6 separate regions of the Homo sapiens genome follow, and regions 1, 2, 4, 5 and 6 are each linked to region 3. Evidence: promoter capture Hi-C in human tissues and cell types (Jung and others, 2019). All regions are on one chromosome and are shown on one strand. The core of a region is centred on a gene start or on the middle of the fragment in contact, and the rest is flanking DNA. Distances in the headings are between cores, read along the strand shown.

Region 1 (2,820 bases), core at 248-2,747, 640 kb before region 3:
TGGTGGCTCAAGCCTGTAATCCCAGCACTTTGGGAATCTTAGGCAGGCAGATCACCTGGGGTCAAGGGTTTGAGACCAGCCTGGTCAACAGGGTAAAACCCCGTCTCTACTAAAAATACAAAAATTAGCCAGGTATTGTGGCACAAGCCTTTAGTCCCAGTGTGGCAGGGAAATGTGGGGTCGGAAATCCCACACAGAGTTTCTACTGGTGTACCACCTAGTGGAGCTGTAAGAAGAAAGCCACTGCCCTCCAGAACCCAGAATGGTAGATCCACTGACAGCTTGCACCATGTTTCTGGAAAAACCACATACCCTCAATGCCAGCTCGTGAAAGCAGCCAGGAGGGAGACTGTGCCCTGCAAAAGTTTTTTAAAACTTTTCATTTGAAAAGTTTTAAAAAAGTTCTGTCACAGGGGCAGAACTTCCCAAGACCATGTGAACCCACTTGTTACATCAGGTAACCTGGATTTGAGACATGGAGTCAAAGAAGATTATTTTGGAACATTAAGATTTGACTTCCCAGCTGGATTTCAGACTTGCATGGGACCTGTAGTTTGGACCAATTTCTCCATTTGGAATGGCTGTATTTACACAATGCCTGAACTCCCATTCTTTCTAGGAAGTAACTGACTTGGTTTTTATTTTACAGGCTCATAGATGGAAGAGACTTGCCTCATCTCAAATGAGACCTTGGACTGTGGACTTTTGAGTTAAGGCTCAAATGAGTTAAGACTTTGGCGGACTCTTGAACAGGCATGATTGGTTTTGAAATGCGATAGCAATCATGACTCTAGAGGACCACACGTGAAGTGCAACAAGCAGGCGCAGAAGACAAGTGATTCGTGATTTCACTGTAGTTTGTTTAAATGGTAGACTCACAGAAGTAGAATAGAATGTTGGTTACCAGGGGCTGGAGGGGTGGACTGGAAAAGGAGAGATTGTGGTCAAAGTGTAAAATGTTCCAGTTAGACAGAAGGAGTAAGTTACAGTGTTCTAATGCACAAGATGGAAAATATGGCTGTGAATGCATTATATATTTCAAAATGGCTAAACATGCAAATGTTAAAATTTTTTCCCACTAAGAAATTATACAGGTCGGGAGCGGGGGCTCACACTTGTAAACCCAGCACTTTCGGAGGCCGAGGTGGGTGGATCACAAGGTCAGGAGTTCAAGACCAGACTTGCCAAGATGGTGAAACCCTGTCTCCACTAAAAACACAAAAATTAGCCAGGCGTGGTGTTCACCACAGGAGAATTGCTTGAAGCAAAGGCTGCAGTGAGCCAAGATCGTACCACTGCACTCCAACCGGGGTGACAGAGTGAGACTCAGTCTCAAAAAAAAAAAGAAATACATTTATGAGGTGCTGGATATGTTAAATAGCTTGATTAACAATTCCATAATGTATGCATGTATGATAGCATGTGTGAATGGACCTGTATGAAGGTGAGGTGCCCTGGTCACGTGACAGTGAGGTGACTTGGGGGAGGTGTAAGGTTACCTGGGGGTATGTGTGCAGTGAACTTGGGCACATGTGAGGTGACCCAGGGTGCATGTGTGGTGGCCTGGGTGCGTGTGAGGTTACCTGGACATGTATGAGGTGACATGGGGAATTCGTGAGGTGACTTGGATATGTATGATGTGACCTCAGGCATGTGTGAGGTGACCTGGCGGACGTGTGAGGTGACCTGGGGGACGTGTGAGGTGACATGGGGAATGTGTGAGGTGACCTGGGGGAATGTGTGAGGTGACCTGGGAGCATTCGAGGTGACGTGGGGGGTGTGTGAGCTTAGCAGGAGTGTGTGTGAGGTGACATGGGGTATATGTGAGGTGACCCCCCTGACGTGTGAGGTGACCTGAGCACATGTGAGGTCACCTAAGGCACATCTGAGTTGACCTGGGGGATGTGTGAGGTGACCTAGGGAAATGTATGAGCTGACAAAGGGCATGTGTGCAGTGACCTGGGTGCATGTGAGGTGACCTGGTGCATGTGTTAGTTTACCTGGGGGATGTGTGAGGTGAACAGGGGCAGGTGTGAAGTGCCTGAGGAATGCATGAGGTGACCTGGTGCATGTGTGTGGTGACCTAGCAGATTTACGAGGTGACCTGCGGGATGTGTGAGGTGAATAGGGACTTGTGTGAGGTGGCCACAGGAATGTGTGAGGTGACCTGGGGGATGTGTAAGGTGACATTGGGGATGTGTGAGGTGACTCAGGGCACATGTGAGGTGACCTGGGGGATGTGCAAGGTCACCTTGGGTGAGTGTGAGGTGACCTTGGGGATGTGCAAGGTCACACTGTGTGAGTGTGAGGTCATCTGGGATATTTCAAACTTCGTAAGGAAAGCCTGCAACAGTATATGGCACTAAAAGCTTCACACTCCAACACCGTTAATGCGCACATCCTCAAGGAACTCTAAGTGTTTCCAGGTTAGCTTAAATGCCATGGAGCGACACCTGCCCCAGGCACACTCATATATGCATCCTGGGTCTCCCTATCAACCCCTATCCTCAAATTTTCAGTTTATGTTTGCTCCATGATATCAACTCTGATATGTTGAAGGTTTTTTTTTTTCTTTTATTTGTAGTTGTTCAGGTTTGCTATTTCACTCTCATTACTCTGGGCTCAGTCCTCTCCTCAGGTGTCCCACTTCAGAGCTTGCTATATAATAGGAGACATGCAAATAGGACCCTCCCTTTTCTGATGAAAAGCAGCGCAGCCCTGACCCTGCAGCCCTGGGAGAGAAGCCCCAGCCCTGGGATTCTCAGGTGTTTCTATTGGGTCAACAGCAATAAACAAATTACCATGGAATTTGGGCTGAGC
Region 2 (2,700 bases), core at 11-2,510, 780 kb before region 3:
GTATGTCCTTACATTTACGCTTTCCTCAGAAAACAGACTTTTCCTCATGTGGACTCTTGTCTCAGACAAGCAAATATGTCTCCATGTGAACTCTTCACTCAGATAAGTACACATATGTCCACATTTACTGTTTCCTTACACAGGCACATATATTCAATGTTGAATTGTTTTGTGGCAAAATGATCTCAAGATAATGGTAATTATAAATCCCCTCCCTAATAAAGTGTAGATCTGTATTTTTTTTGTTGTAACCTAACTTTGCCTTATTGTCAAAAACAGTAATTTGCAGCTCTAAATGCACCAGTTAGAGACAGGTGTCCATTTTCTCTGGAAATGTATTTTTATTTTCTTACTGGACATATTTGTTGATAATGTTGCTACTATGAAGATACCTGAACAGTATCCACATTAAAGAATAAAAAAGAGTAATGGGCAGAATAACCCTGTGCATCCAGACCCAGAAATCCTTTGACCCTGCCCTCCCGAAATGTAGACACAGAGGATGGATGAGCAGTGCTGAGCAGTGTACCCATGACCACAAACATGAAGACATGGAAATGTGTCCCCACTCCTCCTCATGAAAGGCAGCTCATGCCCTCTTCCTTCAGGCCCTGGTATGGAGCCACCCCATGTCTCTGCCCTTCCTTAGTGTCCACACCATGGGGTCTGCACTGATCTGGATTCCCTTCTCATCCCCCTCAATATTAGTGTGCCTTGTGAATCAGGTCCAGCTGTGGCTGTTCTCAGTCTGTTTCCTCTGTATTCACAGAAGTCCTGTGTGATGTTTACTGATGGAGTCAGAAGGAGAAAAATTTAACAGCCCAGCAGTTCACTGAGACTGTCCTGCAAAGCCTCTGGTTTCGGGTTTACTGGGTGCAGCATGAGCTTGGTCCAGCACACTTCACAACAGGAATTGGTGTGGGTAGCAACAGTGAGAGATCATATGGGAGTTCTAAGGGTTACTCTCCATGAGTACAGATAAATCAACATTCCCAAGTGACACCCTTTCAAGTGCAGTCTACCTTACAAGGACCAACCTGAAAGCCAAGGGCAAGGCCGTATATTACAGTGAGGGACACAGGGGAGGGAAGATCTGTCTGAGCCCAGACACAAAAATCTCTGCAGAGAGACAGGAGGGAACTGCGTGGTAGATGCTGCTCAGAACCACCATGGGGTGGCCAGGAAACAAGGGGTGCTTAGGACCTCTAGGGAGCGCTCAGGACGCCAGGGGGGTGCTCAGAACCACTAGGGGACGCTCAGGACACTAGGTGGCGCTCAAGACAACACTACTGCACTCATGTCACCACGGGGTACTCAGAACCACCAGGGGGCGCTCAGAACCACCAGGGGGCGCTCAGAACCACCAGGTGGCGCTCAGCACCACCAGGGGGCGCTCAGGACACCAGGGGGCGCTCAGAAACACTCGGGGACGCTCAGGACAAGAGGGGGTACTCAGAACCAACAGGGGGCGCTCAGGACCACCAATGGGTGCTCAGAACCACAAGGGGGCGCTCAGGACATAGGTGGTGCTAAAGACAACAATTCTGGGCTCAGGTCACCAGGGGGCGCTCAGAACCACCAGGGGACGCTCAGGACATGCAGGTTCTCTTAGGAGGCAGCTGCACATCAGGAGCTTCAGAGGCTGTGATTTCCTTTCAGACCCTGGAAATTCCTGACCTGGTCAAGCAAAAGTCTTCCCCAGGATGTCTGATTTTTCCTTTTAATTCCATGATTTCTTTTACCTACAAAACACTAACTTAGAACAGGGATGTAATGCAACTTTTATTGCTGCGTATTTTCTGAGTAATACTAGCAATGATCTCTCGGGACAATTATTAAAATAGGTTATTTATATATTTTAATTATTAAAAATAATACTATTATTAAAATAGTAAAATTTTTTAAATCACACTTGTAATCCCAGCACTTGGGGAGACTGAGGCAGACAGATTACTTGAGCTCAGGAGTTTTAGAACAGCCTGGCAACATGGTGAGATGCTTTCTATACATAAAAGAAGAAATAGCTGAGATTGGTGCAACCAGCTACTTAAAAGGCTGAGGAGGGAGGATTCCTTAAGCCTGGGAGGTTGAGGCTGCAGTGAGCTATGATTGTGCCTCCACACACCAGCCTTGGTGACAGAGTGAGACCCTGTCTTAGAAAAAAAAATGCATATCCTCAATACAGACTATTTCCATGAATAGAGTTTTGTGTTTTTGTGCTGTAATAGTCAAACAATTGTATATGTTTTCTAACTTTAACTCAGCATATGCATGGTGTTTTGTTTCTTTTTCTTTCATCTGCTGTTTGTGGAAAATAAACAGCACTTTAAAGGCTCTGTTTCTCCACTTTGTTTGGCTTCCAGTGTCCTGTTTTTCAGACTGTTTCTCCACCTTCCCTTCTTCTTTGAAAGCCATTTATCTTCCTCAGTCTCCATGCAGAAAAAGAAAGTCCCTTTACTTTCTGTCTTCCAAGTCTGGTGAATCAGTTCCCTTCTTTTCATAATCACTGAAGCCAACCAAGTTTAGAAGTATAACAGTTCTCCTTAGAATACGCTCATCTACCTGCACTCTCTGCCCTCCTCATCCTTTTCTAGGTCCCTCCAGACATCACCCTCATCCCATACCCTCCCTTCCTTAAGTACCACAGAGTGGGCTCTTCACCTCCTGCTGCCCTCTATGTGCTCAGCCCTGGGGCTCACT
Region 3 (2,752 bases), core at 122-2,621:
GGAAGCCCGTCCACCAAGGCCCGTCGGGCTTCCACAGGCCCCTGCACCTCTGTCACACACCTGGCACTGGTCCTCATGGCCGTGCTGTCGGAGTCCCCGCACCTGGGCCTGTGCACACCTGGGTGACAATGGAGGCCCGCACACCCGCACCCACCCCAAAGTCACTGACAGGCTTACTCCCAGCCAGCCCCTCACCCCCTCCACAGCCCCAGGCCTGGGGCTCCGTTTACTGCCGTGTCTAGACAAAGGCATAAAATTTAATGTCCCCGTGACAGTCGGGCGCTCGGACTGCCCTGGTGACACCGCAGGCCCCACCGATCCGGGAAAGCGTTGAACTCTGCACTCCCACCCCTGCCCCCACCCAGCACCCGCCGCCCAGGATCCCCACAGCCACACACAGGACACCCCCACCCCTCGGAGCTCTGACAGGTCGCGAGGAGGGTGCCTTGAGGGTCCTCAGCCCATGCCCCTGCCTCCAAGCCTCCCCGCGCTCTGGGTCCCACCGGGACACTCACCCGGTTTTCACGTCCACTGGATCTACACGTCTGACCCAGGAAGCCCTCTCTGGGCCCATTCCAGGCCCACCTGGGCCTCCCCTAGCTGCAGCCGCAGCCTGAGAATTTCCTCCCTCTCCGCGCGTGGCGGGGCCAAATAAATAGCGGGGGAGCCACGGCGCCGCTCACCCTTTCCGGCCGTGCCTCCAGCCCCTCCGCCCCACTACGCTGTCGCTCGATCCTCAGTCACTTGGCAGATGCGGGCCGAGGGGCTCTGCGCTGGCGAAGGGACGGACTCCAGCCCCTAGCGGAGCCCCTACCCCGGCAAGCCAGAGCCCGGCCCGGCCACCTCTCCGTAGGGACCTGGCCCCAGGCCCACCTGTCCTGGGTCTCCTGGGCCCCGGCCGAGGCCCCTCCTCCCCCCACGCCCCGCGGCTCAGACCTGGCACAGACTCTGGGGCCTCCAGGCCCTTCACTGCCCGGGCCCCGCAAGGACCCTCGCCCCATAACCACCCCTCGGAGCCCCCGGGAGGAGGGGCGGGAGGGGGCTGCTGTGCTCCCGCCGCGGGCCGGTGCAGAGCTTGGGCCGCTCCCAGCAGGCTGCGTCTCTGCTTGTCCCCCCGAGGCTTCCCCACGCAGGGCCGGGTCCCCGTCACCCCGCCGGCCCCAGGCCTCACCCCTGCCGCATCGGCCCCCGCCCCACCCCACAGTCCCCACGGCCCAGAGGTGCAGGGTCGCCCAGGCCCGCCGCCCCCTCCGCGGACGCAGCCGCGCACCCAGCCAGTCCCGCCCGCGCCCGCGCCTACCCCGCCGCCCGCAGATGCTGCGCCGCTCCCGGGCCCGCCCGCCCAGCCTCTGCCGCCACTGCCGGGGCCGCGCCGGCTCCTCCCGCCGCGCCCCTCCCCCGCCCGCGCGGCACCGCCCCCGACCCAGAGGCCCCGCCCCGCGCCCCTCGGCCCGCGAGCCCCGCCGGACCTGGGGACCTGGGAGCGCGGGGGTGCCGGTGCCCCGCCCCCTCCGCAGCGCCGGTTGCCACGGCGACAGCACCGCGCGGCGGCGCGCAGGACTGGTGGCTCTGGGGAGCGGGGCGCCCTCGCGCACCCCCAGGCGCGGAGTCCCGTCTCCACCCTCCTCACCCACCGCCCAGAATCCCAGGGTCCCGCCCAGTGCCCCCCGCGCCCTGAAACTCCGCTGCCGCCCCCTAGAGCGACCCCACTCAGCCGGACAGGCGCCCACCGGCCCAGGAGCTGACAGGGATGTAGGCGCGGGGCTGGCCTGGCCGCCGGGGCCCTCCGCGCCACCCTCTGTCCTCTTTGGGGAGAAACCCAGCCTTCCCAGGTTTCTTCTCAGGGCAGAGGAAAGGAATGATGAGCGGCCCCCACCTTCTTCTCCAGCCCGTCCAGGAGGCAAGCTAGGGTTTGGGGACTTGGGCTTCATTTTGTCACTGAGGTGGCACTAAGCCCCTCCCCCCACATCCTGTCCATCCCGTGTGAGCCAGAGAAGAACCCGAGGGCACCTTCTGCCTGCCTGCCCTCCTTCCCAGAACTGCTGTGACTTCCCTCTGACATAGGAGGAGACTGAGGGTCAGAGAGGTAAAGGGACACCAGATTTGGTGGAAAGACCAGAATTTGAGGCACCACCCAACTGGTAGTGAACTTCCAGATTCTCTTCCCGTATCCCCGGGCCTGGACTCAACACGGCCTGAAAGCCAGAAGAGGACAGAGAGCTCCAGAAGTTCTCTAGTCCTGGCACAAGGGGAGGAAAGAAAAAGGTCGCCTAATGCTCCCAGGGTGCAGGAGAATGCCCGGGGGGATGTTAGGGTTTGGGAGGATGGGGTTTTTTGGTAGTGGTTGTTTTTTTACTCTTCTCCATTCTCTGATGCCCCAGCCCCTAGGTATCCCACCAAAGCCATGACCAAGGCATAGGGTTTACAAGCACCTAAAACGCTGAGGCAGAAGAGCCTTCCTTTCCAGCCCCAGGAGATGTGGTCCCCTGTCGCTGGAGAGATGGTGGGCAGGGAGAAGCAGTAGAAAGCAATCCATGGGCTGGGCGTGGTGGCTCACACCTGTAATTCCAGCACTTTGGGAGGCCGATGTGGGCGGATTACCTGAGGTCGGGAGTTCGAGACCAGCCTGGCCAACATGGTGAAACCCCCATCTCTACTAAAAATATAAAAATTAGCCGGGCGTGGTGGCACACACCTGTAATCCCAGCTACTCGGGAGGCTGAAGCAGGAGAATTGCTTGAGTCCGGGAGAT
Region 4 (2,869 bases), core at 356-2,855, 600 kb before region 3:
GGTTTAACCCTATACTGATGCCAACCTTGGTATTGACTCTACAAGCAAGGAAAATCCTCTCAAAACAATTTATGCAACCCACCTCATTTTCACTCATAAACCTATGGATTGACATCCTGGAGCCACTGCTGCATTTGTTGTTAATGGTAATTAGCCCCTTTTACAATATTTGTGACTGTTTTTCTCCGATGTCTCTTGGAAAATAAATAATTTACAAGCTGATGGCAGTAAAGAAACTATTTAGGACATTTTTAACATCCTGTTGAATATTTCTGCATAGCACATCGGTCCCCTAAAATACTTCGCTGTATTGGCATGTGATGAATCAGAGTATAATGCTGAAGGTAAAATGGGAAATACATGGGCTTTTGATGAATCAAGTCATAGGGTGAGAATGTCTGTGTCCTTGAGGAAGGAGACCTTGGGCTGTAAGTTCTAGTGGGAGTACCTTTGGCAAAGGGATTTCATGAGTTTCTGAACGTTATGCTACTTTTAATTTAAGAATGCAACTTATCATTTATTTTTACTTAAATCTTTCCAGAAGATATTTGGCAGTAAGGACAGGGTAGCATTCGTGTGATACTGATGACTTAGAGAGTTATTTTGTAATTTCTCCTGTAAGGTATGCACATTGCTCACTTGATACAGAAGTTCAAATGTCACAGGCGGGAAAATAGGAATAAAGCAAATTTTATTAAATGTCACGACTGTAGTTTTTGGCAAGGAAGTGCTTCATGTCAACCTGAAAATAGACAGACAACAATAAAACATATTCAAATCCAAAGGGAGTCAGACCTATGTCCCTCTCTCTTATAAGTACAAGGCTTTGCCACATCCAAAATATCCTTTAGGCTCCAGGGTATAAAATGCTTTTGGACTGTGAAGCTAACAGCTCTCCCCTCAGACAGGGATAAGGCATCTGGGGAATGCAGAGTTGTGTTCATGAAGAAGATGGCATTACTGTGTCTTCTCCTGTGCCTGGTGATGGCTCCCCCAGGGTGAGTGTCTCAGATGTCAGATGTGGGTCTATGGGGTGAGTGTAGGTACATGTGACTGACGGGGACTGATTCCCCATGTATTCACATGCCCTGTCCCAGGAGCAGCTGCAGGAGTCAGCCCTGGACCTGAAGAGCACACACTTACCCTCTGCTTCACCTACACCATTTCTGGCCACTCCATCACAACCAGTCCTTACTACTGGACCTGGATCTGCCAGCTCTCAGGGAGGGGCTGCAATGGATACAATGCATTGCTAGTGGTGGTGGGAATCCGTTTGTCTTGTGGAAAATGGCAGCATCTCTTTATTTTATAAGGCAGAATAATGTTATATTGTGTACACATACCACATTGTCTTTATCCATTTGTCCATCGACAGACACTTAGTTTCCATATCTTGGCTGTTGTGAATAGCGCTGCAGTAAGCACAGGAGAGCAGGTATCTTCACAGGGTGGTAATTTCATCCCATTTAGGTGTATTTCCATAAGCTGGATCGCTGGTCATATGGTATTTCAGTTTTAATTTATTTAGAAGCCACCACACTGTTTTGCATAATGGTAATGATGGGAATGTAGAATGTCATAGCCGCTACGAAGAACAGTTTTAGATTTGAGGTATAATCCAAAAGCAAATAATGTTTGATCATGGTTCTCATATGAGGCTCTAATAAATCTAGTGGAAGTCCAGAAAGTTTTCCCACCTTGGGCAAGGATGAGTTTGCCCCTAATTGTCTTTGAGGCAGAATATTTGCAGAATGTGAGATGGAGTATGTCGGCAGGATTCAGGATGATTCAGCCATAAATAGTAATGGCACAGAAAAACAGGGAGTTAGAGACATGCAGAGAAAGAAAGAGATAGAGAGAATATGAATCTCATAAGAGGAAAATCTGCTGGATATCAGTGTTGGGTTTTCATTCATAGAGACATCAGTGTCAGCAAGAAACCATGAAGTCAAGTGAGGAGTGGAGAACATGTTCAGTCTGAAAATCAGCATATTCTCAGAGGCACCCATTGTCCCATGACACAGGCAGAGAATTTCGGAAACCAGTGAAGTGGGAGTTCACAATAAGTGATGAAGTTATCATTTTTCCAAACTTTCATTAATATGCAAAGTATTTCTATAGATCACTCATGCACATACACACAAAATGTGTTTTTGCATTTATGGGTGTCTAGAGAAAAATAAGTGAGAAAATTTTTCCAGGTTGCAGAGATCTGTTTAAGTTATAGATTCCACAGGAGAGTGTCTTTGAATGAATACTATTCTATTAATTAAATAGGACAAAATTCCCTCTGTTGGAGCAGCCTTCCAATTATGTAGATTTCTTTATTGCTTCTTGAGTTGTGAAACATAAACCCAAGGATTGACTTACTGGAATTCGAGTGCTGTGTTGATAAAATTTCTGATAAGTTTTCTTCCAATGATTTGAGAATAGCTTTCCTGTTTTTTTACTCAAGGAAATGAATTTTCACAAGGTTTCAGGACATCACGTTTCAGGTGTTTTACTTAAAGAGACTCTTCCTGGGTGCAGTCAGCTTTCTTCTAACCATGAGCTCACTTCTTCAGCAAACCATTCAGTTTGTGCCTCTATTAAGAATTATGAAGCTTTTAAACTTCAATGCACTGAAAATCATGCCCCTTGAATTAAATGTTGATTGGCACTGACATGAATTGTCCACTCTTGGATATGTGTCCTATGTTATGGGCTCAACATATCAGTGGACTGAGAATCCTCCATTAGCTGCCTCTGACTGTGGCACTGACCAGATTGAGAATCCTCAGAGTCATCCATGAAAAAGAGAGTCTTTAGGTTCATGGGGTTTTTGGAGACATTCAGGTGAGTGGAGGGGAGAAACAGGACTGGGGGTGGC
Region 5 (2,939 bases), core at 52-2,551, 760 kb before region 3:
TTAATTGGCTCACGGTTCTGCAGGCTGTACAGGAAGTGTAGTGGCTTCTCCTTCTGGGGAGAGTCAGGAAAGTTAGGATCATGGCAGAAGACAAAGGGGAGCAGGTGCGTCACATGGCCAGACCAGGAGCCACAGGAAGCAGGGAAGGTCTACACACTGTTAGGCAACTAGATCTTATGAGAACTCACACACTGTCATGAGAACAGCACCAGGAGTTTGTTCTAAACCATTCATGAAAGACCCACCCCATGTCCCAGTCATCTCCCACCAGGTCCCACCTTCACAATTGAGGATTATAATACAACATGAGATTTGGGGCAGGACACAGATCCAAACCACATCAGATACACATTGTGAAATGCTCATCATGGCCAAAGTAATTTGTATATCCATTTTCTCATGGAGCTACCATTTTATTTTTTTAAAATGTACTACATGTGTGTGTATGTGTGTGTGTCTCATGAGAACACCTACGATCTACCCGTTTAGCAAAAATCACATTTACAATACAGCATTAAATACAAGAACATTGCAGTACATTAGATCTGCAGAACTCATTCACCCTGCACAACTGGACCTCTACCCTTCGACCGACATCATCTGATTTCCCTCTCCTCACAGGCCTGGGACCCACTATTCTACTCTCTGCTTTCAAGAGCTTGAATATTTTAGATCCCACATGTAAATGAGATCATTAAGTCTTTCTGCATCTGGCTTATTCCACTAAGCATCATGTCCTCTAGCCCCATCCCTGTTGTTGCAAATGTCAGAATTTCCTTCTTTTCAAAGCCTAATAAAATTCAGTTTTCTGTGTACACATTTTCTTTACACATTCATCAATCTGTGGTCATTAAATTATTTTACAAATCTACACTATTATAAATAATCTTGCAGTGAACATGTGTTTGACATAATAATTTTATTTCTTTTGAATATATGACAAGAAGTGGGATCACCAGAGCATATGATAGCTTTATTTTTCAATATAATGAATAACCAAACCTACCACACCATGCTTTTGAAGTCTTAGTCATATTTTATTTGCCTAGGCCAATGTCCCGAAAAATTTCTCCTACATTTTCTTCAGTTTGTACATTTAAATATTGAATCCATATTCAATTAATTTTTGTCTATGGTGAAAAACTAGAAGTCTAGTTTTATTCTTCTATGTGTGGCTGTCTAAGTTTTTCAGCACCACTTACTGAATAGAGGGTTGTTTCTCCATTGCATATTTTTGTCAGTTTTGTCAAAGAACAGGTGGTTGTAGAAACTTGTCTTTATTTCTTGGCTGTCTATTCTTTTACATTATTATTATTGTTATTGTTTTTAGTAGCAGTACCATGCTGTCTTTCTTACTGTATCTGTGTAGTATAATTTGAAATCAGGGAATGTGGTGCTTTCAGCTTTGGTCTTTTTCCTTGGGATTTCTTTTGCTATTCAGGCTGTTTTTTGATTCCATATATATTTAAGGATTTTTTTTAAAACATGTAATCAATTATATTGGTTACTTGATAAAAATTGCATTGAATATGTATCTTGCTTTGGACAGTGTATTAGTCTACTGTGCATTGCTATAAATTAATGCCTGAGGCCAAGTGATTTACAAAGAAAAGAGGCTTATTTGGCTTACAGTTTTGGAGGCTGTGTGAGAAGCATGGCACCAGCATCTGCTTCTTGTGAGGGCCTCAGGAAGCTTACGGTCATGGTGGAAGGCAAAGGGGAAGCAGGCAGTGTCCTGTGGTGAGAGGGGGCACAGAAGAGGGGAGGAGGGTCGCTAGACTGTTTTTAACAATCAGATTTCAAATTAGCTAATAAAGAAATAATTCACTAATTACCATGGGGTTGATACCAAGCCATACCTGAAGGATCTTTTCCCCACAATCCAAAAACTCCTACTAGGACCCACCTCAAATATTTTGGATCACATTTCACCGTGAGATTTGGAAGGGACAATCACCTAAACTGTAGCATTTCACTCTTGTGTCCCCTGGTCTCAAATCCTTGTAAGATTGCAAAATCATCTTTTTTAAAAATAGTTCCCAAAAGTGTTAACTTGATCAACCTCCAACTGAAAATTACAAAGTCTCGCCAGGGTCTTAAGGCAATTTCCCTCCAGCTGCGTGCTGGCAAAATGTTTTAAAGAGTTATGTACTTCCAAGGTGCAATATTGCCATTGGGTAAATATTGTCAATACAAAAGGAATAAATTGGCCAAAGGCCCCACACACACCTAAAGCCTAGCAGGACAGATATTAAATCTTAAAGCTACAAAATAATCTATCTTGACTTTATGTTCTTAGTCAGGGTACACCAGGACAAAGTGGGTCCCAAAATCCTCAGGCATCTCATCCTTATGGCTGGGCACATTCCATGGGGCTAATAACACAGGCCAGAGTCAAGTGCCAGAAGTAGTTCCAGGTTGGGAGTACAAGCTGCCTTTGGATCTACCATTCTGGGATCTTGAGGGTTGTGGCTGCATTTCTGTAGCTCCACTGTGAAGTGCCCTAGTGGGGACTCTGAATGGGGTTCCAACCCCATCTTTCCCCATCTTTGGTACTGCCTTCGTAGAGGTTGTTTGTGGTGGATCCAGTCCTGTAGCAAGCTTCCTCCTGGGCACATAGGGTTCTCTACACATCTTCTGAAATCTAGGTAGAAACTGCCCAGCCTCCTTCACTCTTGCATTCTGCATATCTGCCAGAATCCAGTTATCCCAGCACCATTTACTGAACACAGAGTATTTTTTCCACATTGTTTGTTTTTGTCAGCCTTATGAAGTATCAGACGGTTTAGGTGTGCAGCTTTATTTCTGTTTCCTATTTTGTTCCGTTTCTTCTGCATATCTGCTCTTGTACCAGTACCAAGCTGTTTTTGTTACCATGTCATTATGGTGTAGCTTAAAGTTGGGTATCATGATGCCTCTGGCGTTCTTCTTTTTGCTTA
Region 6 (2,864 bases), core at 132-2,631, 860 kb before region 3:
TGGGGCACATGTGAGGTGACGTGGGGGATATGTGTGAGCTGACCTCGGGTGAGTGTGAGGTGATCCAGGATGGATGTGAGGTGACCTGGGGGTGTGTGTGAGGTGACTTGGGCACATGTCAGGTGACATCGGGGATTGGTGGTGATGTGGGTGTGTGTGAGGTGACCTAAGGAGGTATGAGGTCACCTGGGGCATCTGTGGGGACCTGGAAATGTGTGAGGTGGGTACAGGTGAAGTCACCTAGGGCACATGTGAGGTGACCTGTGGAATGTGTATGGTGACCTGGGACCGTTTGAGGTGACATGGGGAATGCGTGAGGTGACCTGGGGCATGTGTGAGGTGACAAAGGGCATGTGTGCAGTGACCTGGGTGCATGTGAGGTGACCTGGTGCATGTGTTAGGTTACCTGGGGGATGTGTGAGGTGAACAGGGGCAGGTGTGAAGTGCCTGAGGAATGTGTGAGGTGAACTGGTGCATGTATGTGGTGACCTGGGGGATTTACGAGGTGACCTGCGGGATGTGTGAGGTGACCTTGGGTGAGCGTGAGGTGACCTGACGTATGTATGAGGTGACCAGGGTGTGTCTGAGGTGATGTGGGGTATATGTGCGGTGACCTGGGAAATGTTTGAGGTGACCTGGTGGATGTGTGAGGTGACCTGCAGGATGTGTAAGGTGACACTGGGGATGTGTGAGGTGACTCAGGGCACATGTGAGGTGAAATTGGGGATGCGTGAGGTGATTCAGGGCATATGTGAGGTGACCTTGGGGATGTGTGAGGTCACCTTGGGTGAGTGTGTGGTCATCTGGGATATTTCCCAACTTCGTAAGGAAAGCCTGCAACAACACATGGCATTAGAAGCTTCACACTCTAGCACCATTAATGCGTACATCCTCAAGGAACTCTAAATGTTTTGAGGTTAGCTTAAATGCCATGGAGCGGCACCTTCCCCAGGCACACTCATATATGCATCCTGGGTCTCCCTGCCAAGCTATATCTCCTCAAATTTACAGTTTATGTTTGCTCTGTGACATCAACTCTGATATGTTCAAGTGTGTTTTTTTTTCTTTATTTGTAGTTGTTCAGGCTTGTTGTTTCACTCTCATTACTCTGGGCTCAGTCCTCTCCTCAGGTGTCCCACTTCAGAGCTCGCTGTGAAATAGGAGACATGCAAATAGGGCCCCCCCTTTCCTGATAAAAAGCAGCCCAGTCCTGACCCTGCAGCCCTGGGAGAGAAGCACCAGCCCTGGGATTCTCAGGTGTTTCCACTTTGTCATCAGCAACAAACAAATTACCATGGAATTTGGGCTGAGCTGGGTTTTTCTTGCTGCTATTTTAAAAGGTGATTCATGAAGAACTAAGGATATTGAGTGAGTGGACATGAGTGAGAGAAACAGTGGATTTGTGTGGCAGTTTCTGACCAGGGTGTCTCTGTGTTTGCAGGTGTCCAGTGTGAGGTGCAGCTGGTGGAGTCTGGGGGAGGCTTGGTACAGCCTGGGGGATCCCTGAGACTCTCCTGTGCAGCCTCTGGATTCACCTTCAGTAACAGTGACATGAACTGGGTCCATCAGGCTCCAGGAAAGGGGCTGGAGTGGGTATCGGGTGTTAGTTGGAATGGCAGTAGGACGCACTATGCAGACTCTGTGAAGGGCCGATTCATCATCTCCAGAGACAATTCCAGGAACACCCTGTATCTGCAAACGAATAGCCTGAGGGCCGAGGACACGGCTGTGTATTACTGTGTGAGAAACACTGTGAGAGGTCGGAAGTGTGAGCCCAGACACAAACCTCCTGCAGGAACGTTGGGGGAAATCAGCTGCAGGGGGCGCTCAGGACCCACTCATCAGAGTCAACCCCAGAGCAGGTGCACATGGAGGCTGGGGTTTGTTTCCTGTCAGGATTTGGGACTTCCTCTGCTTCTGACAGTTTCTCTAGGGAAACTCTTTAATTTTAGATTTCTGTGCCCACCAATGTCATCTCTACATTTTTTTAATCATTGTATATGAGGACTCGTTCTCACATGCACAATATGTATATTGCCACCTATGGGAATGAAAGGTCCTCAACCATGGTCACCAGCATCAGAGTCGTGAGGAAGCTCAGGGGTGCCTGGTGAGTCTTCTCCAGTCAGACTCAGGACAGTAACCTCAAGGGGATTCCCTTGTGAGAACTCACACATTTTCATGAGAACAGCACCAGGAGTCAGTTCTAAACCATTCATGAAAGACCCACTCCATGACCCAGTCACCTCCCACCAGGTCACCCCTTCACAACTGGGGATTATAATACAACATGAGATTTGGGGCAGGACACAAATCCAAACCATATCAGATACACATTGTGAAATACGCATGGTGGTCAGGTAATTTGTATTTCTATCACCTCACAGCGCTACCATTTTATTATTTTTTTTAATTTACTGCATGAGTGAGTGTCTGATGAGAACACCTAAGATCTACCCTTTCAGCAACAATCATTTTTACAATACAGTATTAACTATAGGACCATTGCTGTACGTTAGATCTCCAGAACTCATCCAACCTGCACAACTGAAACTCTGTACAATTTAACACACATCACCCAATTTCCCTCACCTCCCAGGTCCTGGGACCCACTATTCTACTCTCTGCTTTCAAGAGCTTGAATATTTTAGATCCCACATGTAAATGAGATCATGCAGCATTTGTCTTTCTGCATCTGGCTTATTCAACTCAGCATCATGTCCTCCAGGCCCATCCGTGTTGTTGCAAATGTCAGAATTTCCCTCTTTTCAAAGCCAAACAAAATACAGATGTATGTATACACATTTTCTTTATACATTCATCCATTTACAGTCATTAAATTATTTTACAAATCTACACTATTA

The links. The method cuts DNA at HindIII sites, captures the fragments that hold promoters and counts their contacts. A contact is called where the count stands out against the background at its distance.
Region 1: a contact is called between a fragment that was not itself captured here and the fragment with the promoter of TMEM121 in region 3, in 1 of the 25 tissues and cell types used here (lymphoblastoid cells).
Region 2: a contact is called between a fragment that was not itself captured here and the fragment with the promoter of TMEM121 in region 3, in 1 of the 25 tissues and cell types used here (lymphoblastoid cells).
Region 4: a fragment that was not itself captured here is called in contact with the fragment with the promoter of TMEM121 in region 3 in 1 of the 25 tissues and cell types used here (lymphoblastoid cells).
Region 5: a contact is called between a fragment that was not itself captured here and the fragment with the promoter of TMEM121 in region 3, in 1 of the 25 tissues and cell types used here (lymphoblastoid cells).
Region 6: a contact is called between a fragment that was not itself captured here and the fragment with the promoter of TMEM121 in region 3, in 1 of the 25 tissues and cell types used here (lymphoblastoid cells).

The regions. Positions count from the first base shown.
Region 1 is chr14:106,165,639-106,168,458 of GRCh38, reverse strand. It overlaps IGH and IGHV3-16. Among named protein-coding and RNA genes, the nearest start is that of LINC00226, 120 kb to the left of the region's middle. The HindIII fragment of the contact is 8,876 bases long and covers 1-2,820 here.
Region 2 is chr14:106,307,782-106,310,481 of GRCh38, reverse strand. It overlaps IGH and the pseudogene IGHVIII-26-1. Among named protein-coding and RNA genes, the nearest start is that of LINC00226, 21 kb to the right of the region's middle. The HindIII fragment of the contact is 7,257 bases long and covers 1-2,700 here.
Region 3 is chr14:105,525,202-105,527,953 of GRCh38, reverse strand. TMEM121 (transmembrane protein 121) reads right to left here and starts at 1,371. Exons shown (of 2, transcript NM_025268.4): 1 at 1,301-1,371. The HindIII fragment of the contact is 20,488 bases long and covers 1-2,752 here.
Region 4 is chr14:106,125,519-106,128,387 of GRCh38, reverse strand. It overlaps IGH. Among named protein-coding and RNA genes, the nearest start is that of LINC00226, 160 kb to the left of the region's middle. The HindIII fragment of the contact is 3,613 bases long and covers 1-2,869 here.
Region 5 is chr14:106,281,777-106,284,715 of GRCh38, reverse strand. It overlaps IGH. Among named protein-coding and RNA genes, the nearest start is that of LINC00226, 4.4 kb to the left of the region's middle. The HindIII fragment of the contact is 4,391 bases long and covers 1-2,939 here.
Region 6 is chr14:106,388,274-106,391,137 of GRCh38, reverse strand. It overlaps IGH and IGHV3-35. Among named protein-coding and RNA genes, the nearest start is that of LINC00221, 93 kb to the left of the region's middle. The HindIII fragment of the contact is 6,618 bases long and covers 1-2,864 here.